Regions from separate parts of the Homo sapiens genome. Here region 1 is linked to region 2. The links are contacts of gene promoters, found by promoter capture Hi-C in blood cells and fetal thymus (Javierre and others, 2016). All regions are on one chromosome and are shown on one strand. The core of a region is centred on a gene start or on the middle of the fragment in contact, and the rest is flanking DNA. Distances in the headings are between cores, read along the strand shown. Region 1 has its middle 11 kb from the start of PIK3C2A. Region 2 holds the start of KCNJ11 (potassium inwardly rectifying channel subfamily J member 11).

The links. Contacts are between HindIII fragments. The CHiCAGO score rates a contact against its expected background, and 5 or more counts as called.
Region 1: a contact is called between a fragment that was not itself captured here and the fragment with the promoter of KCNJ11 in region 2, in 2 of 17 cell types (non-activated CD4 T cells and naive CD8 T cells). The highest score is 5.4, in non-activated CD4 T cells.

What each region holds. Positions count from the first base shown.
Region 1 is chr11:17,217,435-17,220,156 of GRCh38, forward strand. No RefSeq gene overlaps it. Among named protein-coding and RNA genes, the nearest start is that of PIK3C2A, 11 kb to the left of the region's middle. The HindIII fragment of the contact is 6,380 bases long and covers 1-2,722 here.
Region 2 is chr11:17,387,409-17,390,323 of GRCh38, forward strand. KCNJ11 (potassium inwardly rectifying channel subfamily J member 11) reads right to left here and starts at 1,251. Exons shown (of 1, transcript NM_000525.4): 1 at 1-1,251. The coding sequence starts at 683. RefSeq lists an enhancer at 1-433 and silencers at 1,642-2,151, 2,232-2,331. The HindIII fragment of the contact is 14,360 bases long and covers 1-2,915 here.

The DNA of each region.
Region 1 (2,722 bases), core at 54-2,553, 170 kb before region 2:
CCAACTGGTTGAACTCACTAGTAGCTTTCCATTGCACTTAGAATAAACCTTCCCTTTGCTTCCAAAGCCTTACAAACCTGATCCAGTTTACCTCTCCTGTATCGCTCTGCCCCTTGACCACTGTTCCAGCAACAGCAGCCTTCTTTCATTCCTAAACAGCCAAGAATATGCAAGCTCACTCCTGCTCTAATGACTTTGCACTAGCTATTCCCTTGCCTGAAATGCTGTCCCTTTGAGTGTGACTGGCTCCTTTTTGTCCTTCATATCTCTGGTTAAATGTTACCTCCTGAGAATTTCACTGACCACCCAGTCTAAAATACTCACCTCGTCCCTATATATATAGCGTGACTTTATTTTAATGCTCTGTGAAGCACTGACTACCTCCTGATACTTTTCTTATTTATTTATTTTAGGTATTTATTTTCCCACACTAGAATGTAAGCTCAATGACAGCAGGGACTTTGTCTTGTTCACCATTAATTCCTTTGCATCTAGAGCAGTGCTTGGCTCAGAGAGCCTAATAATTGTTAAGTGAATGAATGAAATTACTTCCATTTATATTTAATACCTTTTCCCCTTCAGTTAAAACAACATAGCCAAGACTTTCCTCTTGTATAGAAATTCACATGATTTTTTTTTTTTTTTTGAGACAGAATCTCACTCTGTCACCTAGGCTGGAGTGTAGTGATATGATCACATCTCACTGCAGCCTCAACTTCCTGGGCTCAAGCAATCCTCCCATCTCAGCCTCTTGAGTAGCTGGGACTACGGGTGCACTCCACCACACTGGGCTAATTAAAATAATTTTTTTAGAGACAAGGTCTCACCATATTGCCCAGGTTGGTCTCGAACCTCTGGGCTCAAGCAATCCTCCCCGCTTGGCCTCCCAAAGTGTTGGGATTGGAGGCATGAGCCACTGCACCTGGCCTGAGCATGAATTATGAAAGACTAATATTATTTCAGTGGAAGCCCTGCCTTGTAAACCAGTGGTGAGGAGCATTTGTATTGCACTGAATAATTTTTTAAATTCAGTTGTGAGTTACTATATAAAACCTAAAATTAAGTTAGAAAAATTTCAAAGAACTATCAACTGTTTCTTTGATATGCCTTTAAAAAGGATGGCCATTTTGTGCATCATTAAAGTATGATGTGTAGGCTGTGACTCACAAGAGGAATAGCCAACCTACTCTTTTCTCTCCTCCTCTTCCCCTCCCCAGAATATCATAAAGAAACAGGTGATAGGTACTTGGAAGAGTAGCTAACATTTGCTGAGAGCTTGCTATGTGCTAGATATTTTATTTTATTTTATATTTTATGTTATGTTACTTTATTTTATTTTTATTTTATTTTGAGACAAGGTCTCACTCTGTTCCCCAGGCTAAAGTGCAGTGGCATGATCACAGCTCACTGCAGGCTTGACCTCCCCAGGCTCAAGTGATCCTCCCACCTCAGCCTCCCAAGTATCTGTGACTACAGGTATGCACCAGCACACCCAGCTAATATTTGTATTTTTTGTAGAGACAGAGTTTTGCCATGTTGCCCAGGCTGGTCCTGAACTCCTGGGCTCAAGTGATCCGCCCACCTCAGCCTCCCAAAGTGCTGGGATTATAGGCATGAGCCACTGTGCCCAACCAACATTTAATAAATTAACTCATTTAACCTTCAGAACAACCTTATGAGAGACAATTCTAATTCCCACTTAACAGATATGAGGTACAGAGAGGTTAAGTAACTTGCCTGGGTCACATGGTTAATGAGTGGTAGAGCTGGGCAGGCTGACTCCAATGTCTGAGCTTTTAATCATCTTACCATGCTGCCTTGGGGAATGCATGTCAGTGGGTCTGAATGTTTGTCGCCACTTTAGTCCTTTGGGACTACAAAGGAGAGTAAATAAGGAAAAATACATGGGGGTTTGGAGCTAAGTGTCAAATCCAATCAAGTCCAAATTCCAGAGGTTTTCCTTTTTTATGCCATGGACCGTTTTGGTAGTCAGGGAGTCTATAGACCCCCTACTCAGAATAATGTTTTTACATACAAAGCTAAAATAGAATTGGAAACCTATTATAGTGAAATACAGTTCTCAAAATATTAAATCACCATGTGGGATATAATATACATGCTTTTTGTTGATATATTAAAAAGATCTAATGGCAGTCTAATGACTACCATAATTTCATAGCAGTATGAACACAAATGATATTTCAAGATAGTTTTAACTGCAATAATGTGACATAGAAATATCTGGGATGTGGTCGGGCACAGTGGCTCACACCTGTAATCCCAGCACTTTGGGAGACCGAGGCAGGCAGATCACTTGAGGTCATGAGTTCGAGACCAGCCTAGCCAACATGGTGAAACCCTGTCTCTACCAAAAATATAAAAAATTAGCCAGGTGTGGTGGTGCATGCCTGTAATCCCAGCTACTTGGGAGGCTGAGGCAGGAGAATCGCTTGAACCCAGGACGGGGAGGTTGCAGTGAGCTGAGATCATACCACTGCACTCCAGCCTGGGCCACAGAGCGAGACTCCATTTAAAAAAAAGAAAAATATCTGGGATATCTGTTAGTGACAAAGTCACAGATACAGCTAGTACTGCTATGACTTGTGGCCTACATTAGTAAGGGAAGGAATTGCTAAGTTTCTATTTGAGATTAGTGAAAATAAAGACATGATATTTTTTCCTTCCCATTCAAGTTCATAGGCCTCTTGAATTCCATCCATGG
Region 2 (2,915 bases), core at 1-2,500:
CCCTCGGGGCTGGTGGTCTTGCGTACCACCTGCATGTGGATGGTGGCGCTGATGATCATGCTCTTGCGGAGGTCACCCACACGTAGCATGAAGCAGAGGCGGCCGTGGCGCAGGGCGATCACCGCATGCTTGCTGAAGATGAGGGTCTCAGCCCTGCGGTGGGCTTGGGCAGTCTTCATGAAGATGCAGCCAAGCATGATGGCGTTGATCATGAGCCCCACGATGTTCTGCACGATGAGGATCAGGATGGCCAGTGGGCACTCCTCAGTCACCATGCGCCCCCCAAAGCCAATAGTCACTTGGACCTCAATGGAGAAAAGGAAGGCAGACGAGAAGGAGTGGATGCTGGTGACACAGGGCTCAGCAGTGCCCTCGCTGGGGGCCAGGTCACCGTGGGCGAAGGCGATGAGCCACCAGGCCATGGCGAAGAGCAGCCAGCTGCACAGGAAGGACATGGTGAAGATGAGCAATGTGTGTGGCCACTTGAGGTCCACCAGCGTGGTGAACACGTCCTGCAGGAAGCGGCCCTGCTCCCGGATGTTCTTGTGGGCCACGTTGCAGTTGCCTTTCTTGGACACAAAGCGGGCCCTCCGCTGGCGGGCACGGTACCTGGGCTTGGCAGGGTCCTCTGCCAGGCGTGTCAGCACGTATTCCTCGGGGATGATGCCCTTGCGGGACAGCATGGCTCCGGTGACCCCCAGGGAGGGGCTTCCCCCATCGGAGGCACCCCTCGGACGTGGCCTAGGGCCTCACTGCAGAGTCCTCTCGGTGGGCACCTTCTCACCCTGGGGCTGCACTCAGCCTGTGCTGGCCTCACTTCTGAGATAACTCCCCACCAGACTCTTCCTTACCTCCACCTGGGTCCCACTTCACTTCTTAATACCAGCCTCAGGCCGGGCGCGGTGGCTCACGCCTGTAATCCCAGTACGTTGGGAGGCTGAGGAGGGCAGATCACTAGGTCAGGAGTTCGAGACCAGCCTGACCAACATGGTGAAACCCCATCTCTACTAAAAATACAAAAGTTAGCCGGGCATGGTGGTGCGCACCTGTAATCCCAGCTACTCAGGAAGCTGAGGCAGGAGAATCGCTTGAACCCGAGAGGCGGAGGTTGCAGTGAGCCAAGATCACGCCACTGCACTCCAGCCTGGGCGACAGAGCGAGACTCCGTCTCAAAAACAAAAAACAAAACAAAAAAAACAGCCTCACCCTTGAGCCCACCTGCCTGGCGCCTAGGGAGCCCCCAACCCTGCCGGCTCTCCACCTGGCCCTGCGTCCTCCCCCAGCTTCCCCCACCAGCTGACCACCCCTGGGCCTCCCGCTAAGAGCCCTTCTCCCCGCCCAGCCTGCCTTCCCAGCCCAGCTCAGAACTTAACACCTCCGGATCTCTCCCACTAACCGGACCTCACCCCCACCTCCGGGTCTCCCGCCTCACCTGTCTGGCCTTCGGGCTCCCAGGCTCCAGCTCAGGTCCTGGCCACCCCCGCCCCGTCTCTCCTCCAGGTGCGCCCCCTATGTCCTACTCCACCCCTCCCGGAGCGCCCCCGCCGCTTTCCGGATCCCCCTCCAGCTCTCGTCCTCTCTGTCTCCTTGGGATCCTGCGTTCTCTGGAGTCACCACCCCACCCGGCTCAACCGCGGCTCCCCGGACCTGCGCGCGACCCGGCGGGGCTGACTCCGAGTCGCGGCCTCCCGGTCCCTGCCGCCCGCCCGCGCCGCGGCTCCCGCTCCGCGCCGGGTCCCGGCCCCGCCCGCCGCCGCCGCTGCACCTGCTCCTGCTCCTCACGCCACGGCCGTCGCCTCCCCGCCCCCTCCCGCCGCCCGGGCGCTCGCGGCTGGCCGTCCTCCCGTCTGTCTGTCCGTCCGTGGGTCCGCGGAGACCGACCTGGGCTAGGCAGGGGTCTAGGACGGCGGGAGGGGGGCGCACGAGGAGAGGAACGGGGCCGGGGACCGCCAGGGGGAGCCCGACCTGCACCGGAGCGCAGGGGGCGGGGCCGGAGCAAGCCCCCGCCCCTCCCGCGCCCCTCCCCGCCCCCGCCCTCCACCTCCCCTCCCGGGACTCACAACCCGGCCTTTGGAGTTTTTCTGATCCGCGGAACCCAGAGGTTCCTCCTGCCCACGCTCTACGAAAGTGGGGGGCTGGGAGGGATCTGTGACCCGCCCTCCCAGTCTGGGGCCGCCGCCCTGTCGCCCTGGCTCCCCTCCCCCAATATCCCCATCCGTATTTGGGTCAGTAATCCGCCTCTCGGCCGCGCCAGGTTTGCAGGTTCCCCGGGAAAGGAGGCGCTGAGAGGCGGCGCCACCAATCCCAGGGCTGGCGGAAATTAGGCGGTCCGAGGACTTCTCAACCTGCAGCTGCTTCTCTTTGGGGGATGCTCTTAATCTTAGTCTTGAATCCTTTGACAATCTGATGGAAGCTCAGACTCCCTCTCATTAAAAAAAAAAAAAAAAAAAAAAAAAAAAAAGGCCTCGGCAGGAAAGGAGCACAGTTTAACACCTGCTACTGCTGTGGGGCAGCCTGGGCGGCTCCATCTTCTCAGCCATTCCGGCCCTACTTTAAAGAAGGTTTGAGCCGAGGCCACTTGCTTTACACTTTCTCACACCTGTCACCTGACTTCTTCCACGTTAGGTCATGGGTGGTATTTAGGCCTGAACAGTGTGTTAGGGCTGCCTCGGGCACTGGGGGACCCAGGCTCTTGGTCCCGGCATGGTGGTGTTTCTGTTCAGGCATCAGCCTGAGGCTGCCCTGTGGCATGGACCCGGGTTCTCAGCTGGGAGGGAAAGCCTGCTAGATCTCTGTTGTTGGAACAGTAACGGCTTTACCGCTGTCTGTGGCTCAGATCCTTATGGAAGAACCCCTGACCATCTGCGGCCATTTTGTTGGAGTGGGGGCTTGAGACAGGGTCTGGAAAAGGCAGT